Linked DNA regions of Homo sapiens: regions 1 and 2 are each linked to region 3. The links are contacts of gene promoters, found by promoter capture Hi-C in blood cells and fetal thymus (Javierre and others, 2016). All regions are on one chromosome and are shown on one strand. Each heading gives the region's core, a stretch centred on a gene start or on the middle of the fragment in contact. The rest is flanking DNA. Distances are from core to core; before and after follow the strand shown. Region 1 has its middle 41 kb from the start of SLC25A5-AS1. Region 2 overlaps STEEP1 (STING1 ER exit protein 1). Region 3 holds the start of RNF113A (ring finger protein 113A).

What was found. The method cuts DNA at HindIII sites, captures the fragments that hold promoters and counts their contacts. A CHiCAGO score of 5 or more calls a contact.
Region 1: a contact is called between a fragment that was not itself captured here and the fragment with the promoter of RNF113A in region 3, in 7 of 17 cell types (total CD4 T cells, fetal thymus, naive CD8 T cells and 4 more). The highest score is 6.9, in total CD4 T cells.
Region 2: a contact is called between a fragment that was not itself captured here and the fragment with the promoter of RNF113A in region 3, in 5 of 17 cell types (non-activated CD4 T cells, neutrophils, naive CD4 T cells and 2 more). The highest score is 5.9, in non-activated CD4 T cells.

The regions. Positions count from the first base shown.
Region 1 is chrX:119,507,661-119,511,673 of GRCh38, forward strand. No RefSeq gene overlaps it. Among named protein-coding and RNA genes, the nearest start is that of SLC25A5-AS1, 41 kb to the left of the region's middle. The HindIII fragment of the contact is 1,153 bases long and covers 1,970-3,122 here.
Region 2 is chrX:119,537,502-119,541,507 of GRCh38, forward strand. STEEP1 (STING1 ER exit protein 1) reads right to left here. Exons shown (of 7, transcript NM_022101.4): 6 at 3,827-3,919; 7 at 648-2,288. The coding sequence ends at 2,226. Among named protein-coding and RNA genes, the nearest start is that of STEEP1, 26 kb to the right of the region's middle. The HindIII fragment of the contact is 1,354 bases long and covers 1,374-2,727 here.
Region 3 is chrX:119,869,353-119,872,996 of GRCh38, forward strand. It overlaps RNF113A (ring finger protein 113A), which reads right to left and starts at 2,381. Exons shown (of 1, transcript NM_006978.3): 1 at 1,123-2,381. The coding sequence starts at 2,261. The coding sequence ends at 1,230. NDUFA1 (NADH:ubiquinone oxidoreductase subunit A1) reads left to right here and starts at 2,480. Exons shown (of 3, transcript NM_004541.4): 1 at 2,480-2,661. The coding sequence starts at 2,560. RefSeq lists an enhancer at 2,094-2,803. The HindIII fragment of the contact is 12,659 bases long and covers 1,102-3,644 here.

The sequences.
Region 1 (4,013 bases), core at 1,296-3,795, 360 kb before region 3:
AACTGTGGCTGTGTGGACAGAATTAAAAGAGGTCATGGGAGGATGTAAGGAGAGTTAAAGCAATGAGGGAAGTCTAGAAAAATAAATCCAAAATGGGAAGTCATTTGCTTTGGGAAAAAAAGCATAGACCTGTCTCCCTGACTAGAAACCTAGGAGGCTTTCCAGTTCTATCAACCACTTAGTAGCTGTAGACCTCGGACAAGTCGCTTTAACTTTCTGATCCTCAATCTGCTTACGTAGAAAAAGACATAAAAAAGGCTATTCCAGAAAATCTCAGTTCCCTCACCCTCCAGTTTTGCTGGTCTTGAGGGCAACTGCTAACAGACTCCTGGAAGGAATCCTTTTTTTTTTTTTTTTTTTTTTTCTGAGTCAGAGTCTCACTATGTTCCCCAGGCCAGAGTGCAGTGGCACAATCTCAGCTCACTGCAACCTCCACCTCCCAGGTTCAAGCGATTCTCATGCCTCAGCCTCCAGAGTAGCTGCGACTACAGGCGTGTGCCATCACGCCCGGCTAATTCTTGTATTTTTAGTAGAGACGGAGTTTCACCTTGTTGGCCAGGCTGGTCTCCAACTCCTGGGCTCACGTGATCCGCCTGCCTCAGCCTTCCAAAGTGTTGGGATTTACAGGCGTGAGCCACCACACCCGGCCGGGAATTCTTACATACCAGAAGAAGGGCATTATTTCTTCTGGTATATATACTTTCTTTGGGAAAGGTGTGTTTTGTGGCAAGTGGGGAAGGGGTTGTTTGTTGATTGGTTTATTTTTTAGAGATGGGATCTCACTATGTCACCCAGGTTGACCTCGAACTTCTGGGCTCAAATAATCCTCCGCCCTCAGCCTCCTGAGTATCTAGGACTATAGGCATGCACCACCACACCTAGCTTGGACAGGTGTGTTTTTATTTTCTTTTTTTTTCACCTTTTTTATTGTTTTAATTTTTTTTATTTCAATGGCTTTTGGCGTACAAGTGGTTTTTGGTTACATGGATGGATTATATAGTGGTGAATTCTGAGATTTTAGTGCACCCATCACCCAAGTAGTATACATTGTATCCATTTTACAGTTTTTTATCCTTCACCCACTCCCACCCTCCCCTTTCTGAGTCTCTAGTGTCCATCATACCACTCCACATGCCTTTGTGTACTGATAGCTTAGCTCTCACTTCTGAGTGAGAACATACAGTATTTGGTTTTCCATTCCTGAGTTACTTCACTTAGAATAACAGCCTCCAGCTCCATCCAAGTTGCCGAAAAAGACATTATTTCATTCTTTTTCTTTTTCTTTTTTTTTCTTTTTTTGTTTGGAGATGGAGTTTTGCTCTTGTCACCCAGGTTGGAGTGCAATGGCTCGATCTCAGCTCACTGCAACCTCCGCCTCCCGGGTTCAAGTGATTCTCCTGTGTCAGCCTCCCAAGTAGCTGGGATTACAGGTGCTTGCCACCACGCCTGGCTAATTTTTGTATCATTAGTAGAGATGGGGTTTCACCACGTTGGCCAGGCTGGTCTTGTATTCCTGACCTCAGGTGATCCGCACACCTCAGCCTCAGGAGAATCGCTTGAACCCGGGAGGCAGAGGTTGCAGTGAGCCGAGATCATGCCACTGCACTCCAGCCTGGAGGGCAAGAGCAAAACTCTGTCTCAATAATAATAATAATAATAATGGCCATTCTGGCTGGGGTAAGGTGGTATCTCATTATGGTTTTAATTTGTATTTCCCTGATGATTAGTGATGTTGAGCATTTTTTATGTGTGTGTTGGCCGTTTGTATATCTTCTTTTGAGAAATGTCTCTTCGTGTCATTTGCCCCCTTTTTAATGGGATTATTTGTTTATTTGTTTTCTTGCTGATTTGTTTGAGTTCCTTGTAGATTCTGTATATTACTCCTTTGTTGGACGCATAGTTTGCAAATATTTTCTTCCATTCTGTGGGTTCTGTTTACTCTGATGATTTTTTCTTTTGCTGTGCAAGAAGCTTTTCAGTTTAATTAGGTCCCATTTATTTTTGTTTTTGTGGCATTTGCTTTTCGGGTCTTAGTCATAAATTCTTTGCCTGCCTAGGCAAAGAATGTCCAGAAGAGTTTTTCCTAGGTTTTCTTCTAGAATTTTTATGATTTCAGGTCTTAGATTTAAGTCTTTGATCCATCTCAAGTTGATTTTTGCATAAGGTGAGAGATAGGGATACAGTTTCATTCTTCTACATGGGGCTAGCCAGTTTGCCCAGCACCATTTATTGAATAGGGTATCCTTTCCCCAACTTACGTTTTCGTATGCTTTGTCAAATATCAGTTGTTTGTAAGTATTTGGCTTTATTTCTGGGTTCTCTATTCTGTTCCATTGGTCTAATATAACTACTTTTATTTTATTTTATTTTTATTATTTGAGACAGTCTCTCCCTGTTGCCCAGGCTGGAGTGCAGTGGCGTGATCTTGACCTACCGCAATCTCTGCCTCCCAGGCTCAAGTGATTCTCCTGCCTCAGCCTCCTGAGTAGCTAGGATTACAGGCACGCACCACCATGCCTGGCTAATTTTCGTACTTTCAGTAGAGATGAGGTTTCACCATGTTGGCCAGCCTAGTCTCGAACTCCTGACCTCAGGTGATCCACAAGCCTCGGCCTCCCAAAGTGCTGGGATTACAAATGTGAGCCACCGCGCCCAGTTAATGTAACTACTTTTATATCAGTACTATTTTGTTTTGGTAACTATAGCCTTGTAGTATAATTTGAAGTCCGGTAATGTGATACCTCCAGATTTGTTCTTTTTGCTTAGGATTGCTTTGGCTATTCTGGCTCTTTTTTAGTTCCATATGAATTTTAGGATTTTTTCTGATTCTGTGAAAAATGATGTTGGTATTTTGATAGGAATTGCACTGAATCTGTAGATTGCTTTGGGCAGTATGGTCATTTTCACGATATTGATTCTACCCATCCATGAGCATAGAATGTGTTTCCATTTGTTTGTGTCATCTATGATTTCTTTCAGCAGTGTTTTGTAGTTCTCCTTGTAGAGCTCTTCCAGAGAGGTATGTTTTTAATAAAATAACTTATCTTTAAATGGAAGCGAAAACGTGTGGAAAACATCCCAATTGGTGAGGCAGGGTGAAAAGAAATACTGCAATTTCTGAAAGCTTTGGATAAACTCACACCTGATAGTTTACCAAAGGACTCAAAGATGACATTTGGGTCTTCATGTTCCATGATGACCTTGTCTGAGTCAGAGGAATCCATGGCTCAGCCACAGGGTGGCATTTTATGTTCTTGTGTTCTCACATCCTTCAAACATCCTCACTGCTGCATATGCACGCCCACACCTTCTTCCCACATCCCGAAACCACTGCCCGAAGACAGGCCAGGTGATCGGCAAAATGAAGCCCCTCAGCTTCCAGTGAGCAGACAGAAGGCTTCTTCTCAGCCCCTCCTTCCCCTTGCTGCTTCCCAGGGGAGAGGCAGACTGTGGCCCTATGATTTTAGGAGCAGTCCCTGTCCCCAGTTGCAATATGGGTTCAACTCCCGACTATTTATTAGTCTTAGGCCTCTTGCTCTGCCCTATTTTATGATGTTCAGAACAACTCTATGAAAATGATAAGGCTGGCATTTTTCAATCCTGCCTCTACACTGCAGGTAGGGGTGAAGCCTCTTCAATATTGTTTTCCTGCTGAGCATGGTGGCTCACGCCTGTAATCCCAGCACTTTGGAAGGCTGAGGCAGGAGGACTGCTTGAACCCAAGAGGTCGAAGCTGCAGTGAGCTATGATTGTGCCATTGCACTCAGCCTGGGCAACAGTGAGACCCTGCCTGAGAAAGAAAAAAAAAAAGTAGTGTTTTTTTCTTACTACTTCTCTTTTCAGAATGCTTTCAACTGCCTGCTATTTTGAGTCCAAATTCGTGGCATGACCTTCAAAAACAAGTTATCATTAATTCAGCACTTACTATGTGCCAGGCGTTGAATCTCTTGTATCCCCTGAACCTAGTAACAACTGTAGGACAGGCATGCCACTATCTTTCAAATGAGTGAATA
Region 2 (4,006 bases), core at 801-3,300, 330 kb before region 3:
TTGTTGCTATTCTTACTACTATTTTTTCATTATTACTGTTAATAAAATAATCACCCTTCAAATCTAAAAACAAAATAAAATAGGTTTAGAGGAAGTGAGCACATGAGAGTAGCAAGGATAGGTTGTGGTCAGAGAGCAGAGTACTGGATTTCAGAGGTGGAGTGGATGACATCCAGGCTGTGGTATGGGAGTTTGTGGCTAAAGTGCAGGAAAGGTAAAGGTCACTGTCTGGAGTTGAGGTTAAGGAACTGTAAGGTTATGGTTTCTCATCCACATGACGGTTAATTATCTCTCAGAATGAGGACGGGAAACAAGGTAGAGAGGAAGAATTGGTTGCGAAGACTTCACTGGATACAGGAAAATAACTGGGAAGAAGGTAACACAGCCCCATCCTGGGCCTTCCTGGGACCCCCACCCCTCTTTTTCCCAGTTCTTGCTAGCTCACATCTAACCTACTTTGCCTTGCAAATAAGGAGATCAGAAAAAAAGCAAAACAAACAAACAAACCAAACAAAAACAAAAACATACAAACAAAAAAAAACCTGCCCTACTATCCTACTATCATCTCCCGGTAGCACCTCACGAACCTGCCTTGGGCACCTACTAAGTGCAACTTTTTGTAGATAATACAAGAAGGTTAACACAACTCCTGTCCCAACACCTTTTAATACAGTTGAATGGATAAAAACATGGATACAAACACATGGATATAGGTATCATTGAAGCAGTGTGACATAAAATAACATCTATATATACAACACTCCTCTGCAAATAACAAATGTAAAGTAAAAGATACCCAACAAATCATTTTGTTTATCTTGCTATCATTTCTTAATCTATAACGTCTCCCTCCCATGTATCCATGCAAGGAAGCAGTATCAGCTGCCCGACTAGAGGGTAGCTCCCTCCCTTGGGTTACTTTTTTTTTTTTTTTTTTTTGTAGAGACAGAGTCTCACTCTGTCGCCCAGGCTGGAGTGCTGGAGTACAGTGGTGCAATCTCAGCTCACTGCAACCTCCACCTCCCGAGTTCAAGCAATTCTCCTGCCTCTGCCTCCCAAGTAGCCGTGACTACAGGGGTATGCCGCCACACCTGGCTAATTTCTTTTGTATTTTAGTAGAGACAGGGTTTCACCATGTTGCCCAGGCTGGTCTCAAACTCCTGAGCTCAGGCAATCTGCCCGCCTCTGCCTCCCAAACTGCTAGGATTACAGGCGTGAGCCACCGTACCCGGCCACCCTTGGGTTACTTGAGACCCTACTTTCATTTGGATCTGAGCTGTCCTACCCACTCACTGCAATCTGGCTTTTCCTTCTTTGAGTATAAAGTCGATACGGGATGGCTCGCCTACAGCTTCAGTGTTTGAAGTAAAGAAAGCTTTATGCAGATTCTGGCTTTTAATGGGTCTCCTCTGACAGTAGAAAGATTCAAACCACAGCCAATTCCAAGAACCCTTCTAAGAACAGAGACAGAGTCACTTCAAAGGATCTGACTTGCTATACCTAAATATAATTCATGGTGCTTTTCCTATGACACACCATAATATTTTGTCCAAAAATCTTGCAACATGTTATTAACTTTGAAGAAAGAATAAAAGCAGCCACTTTAGAGACTGGAGACACTCAAGCACTCATCTATTCATAAAGTTTCTACACAGCTGAAGAAGTTTGCATCAAGTGGACAAAAAATAGTACAGAAAACCTAAATACAGAAAAATTCAGAAAACTCCATCTCCTAGAAAGCAGGGCAAGGCTGGGCACGGTGGCTCACTCCTGTAATCCCAGCACTTTGGGAGGCCTAGGTGGGTGGATCATTTGAGGTCAGGAGTTGGAGACCAGCCTGGCCAACATGGTGGAACCCGTCTCTACTAAAAATACAAAAATTAGCCAGGCGTGGTGGCACATGCCTGTAATCCCAGCTACTCAGGAGGCTGAGGCAGGAGAACTGCTTGAACCCGGGAGGCGGAGGTTGCAGTGAGCCGAGATCGCACCACTGCACTCCATCCTGGGCGAAAGAGCAAGACTTTATCTCAAAAAAAAAAAAAAAAAAAAGAAAGCAAGTTAAATGGACTCAGTTAAAGACCTCACTGAATGTAGGAGAATCAATGGGAAACAACGTAAAGCCTTCTGCTAGGGCATAAATAGGAATCCGTCTATGTAATCAAGAAATTACTTTGCCTCCTGATCTAAATGCTTGCCTCTAGTCTAGGGCTTAGAAAAAGGCCTGGTTATTTGAACTGGTTGTCAATCAAGGTCCCCTTCATTTTCGCTTTCTTGGCTTCCAATTCAGCCTAGAAAGAAAAAAAAAGCATATGTCTTGATACATGACATGAAATTATTTTCCTTCCTTATTCTAACCAACCCAAACACTCTCCCTTAATGTTCATTTAGTGTACAAACTAGAATCATGGTTCCCAAATCATTATATACCTCTAACATCTACTTTCCAACCTTTCTGATGTTATAGCACATACACAAAAAATGCTATTTGTAGGCAAAATGGGCAAAAAGACAAGGCTGTGGCCACAGGAAATCAGCGCAGGGATTCCAGCAGCCCCAGCGCCCCCCACAGGCTGAGGGAACCAATACTGTGGCATACCAGTATGCTATTCTTGGCAGAACAGGAAGAACATCATTCTACAACAGTGCTACTTAAAGTTATATGGTCTATGAACTATTTGTTATTGGTCCACACAAAATATGTACAAAAATGGATAGTAAGCATTTAGAAGCTTTTATAGCAATTTGACACAATAGTAATTTTTAAAATCTGATAAAAATTGAGACAATTCATTTTTATTGTATTTTATAAATTACAAATCTGTTCATGGAAATTTGAAAAAAGGAAAGCACTGGTCTTTCTGCCTTTGAAAGGTTGAGAAGCACTGTTCTAAACGACTATGGCAAGGTAAAGCAGCTCCCAGGACCCACCACTTCTGTCACCAAAAACTCACTACAGACACAAAGAGACTGGTATACCTTTGGATGAGACACCAACATAGTGATATCTGATTTTGATGAAATATTTTAAGTAATTGTCAAAAAAAAATACATAGGCACCATCATACACAGATCCATATGCTCTAAGATGAGCCCATGAATAGTGCAGAAAACCACCAGTGCTTTAAGAAGCAATGACCAGCCCCAATCCTGGTACTACCAAGGTAGCCCTATCATGTGCCATTACATCCTGGGACAACGTCCAGAAACCCTGACCTTTAACTCCTGATCTTGGACCACAAGAAGCAGATTAAAATATCATCCTGGCCTGGCGTGGTGGCTCACGCCTGAAATCCCAGTACTTTGGGAGCCCGAGGCGGGCAGATCACCTGAGGTCAGGAGTTCGAGACCAGCCTGGCCAACATGGTGAAACCCCATCTCTACTAAAAATACAAAAATTAGCCAGGTGTGGTGGCACGTGCCTGTAGTCCCAGCTACTCAGGAGGCTGAGGCAGGAGAATCCCTTGAACCCGGGAGGCGGAGGTTGCAGTGAGCTGAGACCACGCCACGGCACTCCAGCCTGGGCGACAAAGTGAGATTCCAGCTCCAAAATAAATAAATAAATAAAATAAAAATAAAATACAGAAAATAAAATATCATCCTAGTTAGGGCTATAACAAGTATCATCATTTAAGGCCTAGATCCTGGGGTCACTACTACAGAGTAGGGTATACTGACAGTCACAGACCAGGGTTATAAAACTGGCAGCCAACTACTCTAAAACCTCCCAACAGATTTCCTAAAAGATTTCCCTGCCTGCTGAAAGGTCTTTCAGACCAAGACATCCAAATGATAGGGCCCCAGCACCTTGCTACCCCTTGCTACTCACCAGCTCTTGCAGTCGCCTCTTGCTCATGCCTTTGCGCTCCAGCTGTTTTTCAATCACTTTGGCATTCTGTGCATATGAGTCAGCAACTTCCCTCTGAAGGAAAAAAGGAGCATCCTTAAACCGGAAGTCTCACCAAGGAATAACAACAAAGACGTTAAGTCATAATGTATACTACTCAAA
Region 3 (3,644 bases), core at 1,131-3,630:
CCCGCTGCCTACAGAATACAGTCAACGCTCCTCAGCTTGGATTCAAGGCTTTGGCCCCAATCTCCCTTTTTAAACCTCTCTAGGCTTATTTATTAAGTGCTTATTATATGCCAAGCACTAGGCTAGTCACTGAGTTCATAAACCAGTTGGAGAGACAGGTACATTGACTAATTTTAATAAGGTGTGATCAGCACTATTACAGAGACTGTGAGAACACAGATAGTTTCAGGTAATGGATGATAAAATATTGTTTTTGACCTCTGCAGGTTCACGAGTTCTGTCTACAATAGTAATGTCCAATACAGTGGTCAGACACATTTCAAGTGCTCAATAGCCACCTGGGGCTAGTGTCTGTCACACTGGATAGCTGAGCACAGATACTTTTATCACCCATGGACGTGGGGGTTAACTATAGCTGCTTCCAAGACAGCAAGGGAGCCGGGCTCGGTGGCTCACACCTGTAATCCCAGCACTTTGGGAGGCCAAGGCAGGTGGATCACGAGGCCAGGCGATCGAGACCATCCTGGCTAGTATGGTGAAACCCCGTCTCTACTAAAAATACAAAAAAAAAAAAAAAAAATAGCCGGGTGTGGTGGCATGCGCCTGTAGTCTCAGCTACGCGGGAGGCTGAGGCAGGGGAATCGCTTGAACCGGGGAGGCGGAGGTTGCAGTGAGCTGAGATCGCGCCACTGCACTCTAGCCTGGGCAAGAGAGCGAGACTCCGTCTCAAAAACAAATAAATAAATAAATAACCAAGACAGCAAGGAACATTTCCCATATGTGAAGCCTGTGGTGCTAGCTACCAGTTCCCCAAACACAACCCCTCTCCCCAACACCTTGGCTCGGGTATATTTTGTAGTACAGGCTCCCAAGAGAAAGAATGCATGAAAGTACTTTGTAAACTATTAAGTGATACAGAAATGTGATATAATAAACAGGCTCAGAGGTCTTGCTTTCATCATGGCTTTGGTTACTTCGAGCAAATTATAGCTCTTTTCTCAAACTACTCCCACCCCTATAATTTATGCCAAAGTGTTCTGAAAAGAAACACAGGCAAAATGGTTATCCTAGGGCTAAAAATCCTGATTATACCTACCTTGAAGCTTTTAATCCAGGACCCTACTTCACCACCCGCCTGCTCTGTCACTTTCTCTACAAAGGAAGGACACGAAGTAAGACTTCCAAAAGAACAAAACGTTTATTTTTTAAATTTAAGAATTATGGGAAACCTAAGTAATGGGAATTGCATCCTCATCGGGGTCTTCTGGCAAGTCGGAAGCACCACCCTCTCCTGTAGCTCGATGCTTCTCTAGTTTAGCAATCAATTCTTTCGCTGGATTGAAGACGCCATTGGTCTGCTGGTCACAGACATAGCAGCGCGGGGTGGTGCGGAAATGCTGCAGTGCACAGCTCTCGCAGAAATAATGCCTGCACTTGGTGACAACTGGGTTTTGGAAGCTCTGGCGACAGATGAAACACTTGAATGGTATTTCCTCATCATCGCTTCCCACTTCATAGTTTTCATCCTCATAGACACCATAGCGACCCTCATCAAGCTCACGTTCGATCTGCCACCCATGCTTGTAATCTGAACGGTCATGGAGGAATTTGCAGCTGTCTCCGAAGCCGCAGAAGCCAGTCTCTTTGTAGTCCTTACAGATGTCGGGCTGGTAATCCCAGCGCACGGTGGCACGTAGATGCTCGGGCGCTCGGATGGGGCCCTTCCTCACCATCCCGGAAGAGGCATTGCCCATAGACGTATCCTTGGGCTTCATGTATTTCTGATAATTGTTGATTCCCCGATAGATCTTGTCATCCTCCTTGCCCCTCAGCTCCTCCTGGATCTTCTGGCTGCGCTCAAAGATGGCTTGTGCATCGCGCTCTTTCTCTGTGTCCAGCTCATAGACAGCTGTCGCTCCCATATCCTCTGGTCCCACGGGTTTCGCCGAACGGGTGGATTTATAAACCACGCCGAGACTCTCGGGCTCATTTTCCTCTTCCTCTTCGCTGCTCAAGTCGCCGTAAGCCGCCTTCTGTTTACCACTGTCACGGGTCTTCTGTATCATTGGATTGTGGGTCACCCGCTTCTTTTCCGGTCGAACCACAGTGCAGCCTTCGTCGCTACTGCTGCCGCTTTCTCCGGGCTCTGGGTCGCAGGCCGGGCGCTTTCTGCGTCCAGCAGCCCCTTTCCGCCCAGGCTTTTTGAAAAGGAAGGTGCACACCTGATCCACCGCCTTTCCTGGAGAAAGCTGCTCTGCCATTTTAGAGTCCTGAGCTCCGAAACAGCCGTGGCTGCCTGGGTTGCACTTGGCCCCTGCACGTCACTCCACGTTGCGCGCTCCGCCGGGAGTCGAAGCAAAAGACACTGACGGAAGAGGACTGCGAGAGCCCGAGCGCCCGTCTCTCTTGTGCCCTAGCAGATTCCGTCGCTTCTTCCGGAGCCGTACGTGGCACCGCCCCGCTCGCGGGCGGCCGCGGGGCTTGCTGGGAAGAGAGGCGAAGCCAGGTCACCTTTCAAGGACCCAGAAGTAGGGTTTTGGCCTAGGTAACGGGGCAGAGATGTGGTTCGAGATTCTCCCCGGACTCTCCGTCATGGGCGTGTGCTTGTTGATTCCAGGACTGGCTACTGCGTACATCCACAGGTTCACTAACGGGGGCAAGGTAAGCCGGCTTCGGCCCGGGGGCCGACTCCACGGGCTGATTTCCGAAAAGGGTGGTGGGCAGGGAGACCGTCAGCCTGCGAACCCTCTCTCCGAGGTCGGCCCTCTACTTGCTTCCGGTTGCCTAGAAGCCGAGGCTTGCGAAACGAAGCCCGATAGAAACTACATCCTGCTCTAGTGAAAAACAGCGTTTCTGGGTGTATCAGAGTGGGCCTTAGGGCAGAGTAGCGACGCGGGGGCCGGGAAGGTAGATTAGAAAAGGTGGCTCAAGCCTGAGAATCGCTCACTGCAACCTCCGCCTTCTGGGTTCAAGAGATTCTCCTGGTTGGGCGCGGTGGATCACGCCTGTAATCCCAGCACTTTGGGAGACCGAGGCGAGCGGATCACCTGAGGTCGGGAGTTCGATACCAGCCTGACCAACATGGAGAAACCCCGTCTCTCCTAAAAATACAAAATTAGCTGGGCGTGGTGGCGCATGCCTGTAATCCCAGCTACTCGGGAGGCTGAGGCAGGAGAATCACTTGAACCCAGGAGGCGGAGGTTGCGATGAGCCGAGATCGCGCCACTGCACTCCAGCCTGGGCAACAAGAGCGAAACTCCGTCTCAAAAAAAAATAAATAAAGAAAGAAATTTTCCTGCTTCAGCCTCCCGAGTAGCCGGGACCACGCCTGGCTTTTTTTTTTTTTTTGTAGAGGCGGGGTTTCATCATGTTGGCGAGGCTGGTCTCGAACTTCTGACCTCGGTTGATCCACCCGCCTTGATCTCCCAAAGTGCTGGGATTACAGGCGTGAGCCGCCGCGACCGGCCACCCTTGACTTTTTTATTCCCCACTTTCTCTTGCAAGCCTTTAGGAATTTACTGCGAGATCTTGTTTTTTTACATCAGGATTCATTTTCCCCTCTTCCTAGTCCTTCACATCATCTCAAGAGTACAGGATATAAATTTATTTACTTTTTGATTTTGTTATTGTTCTTCACGTGTGAT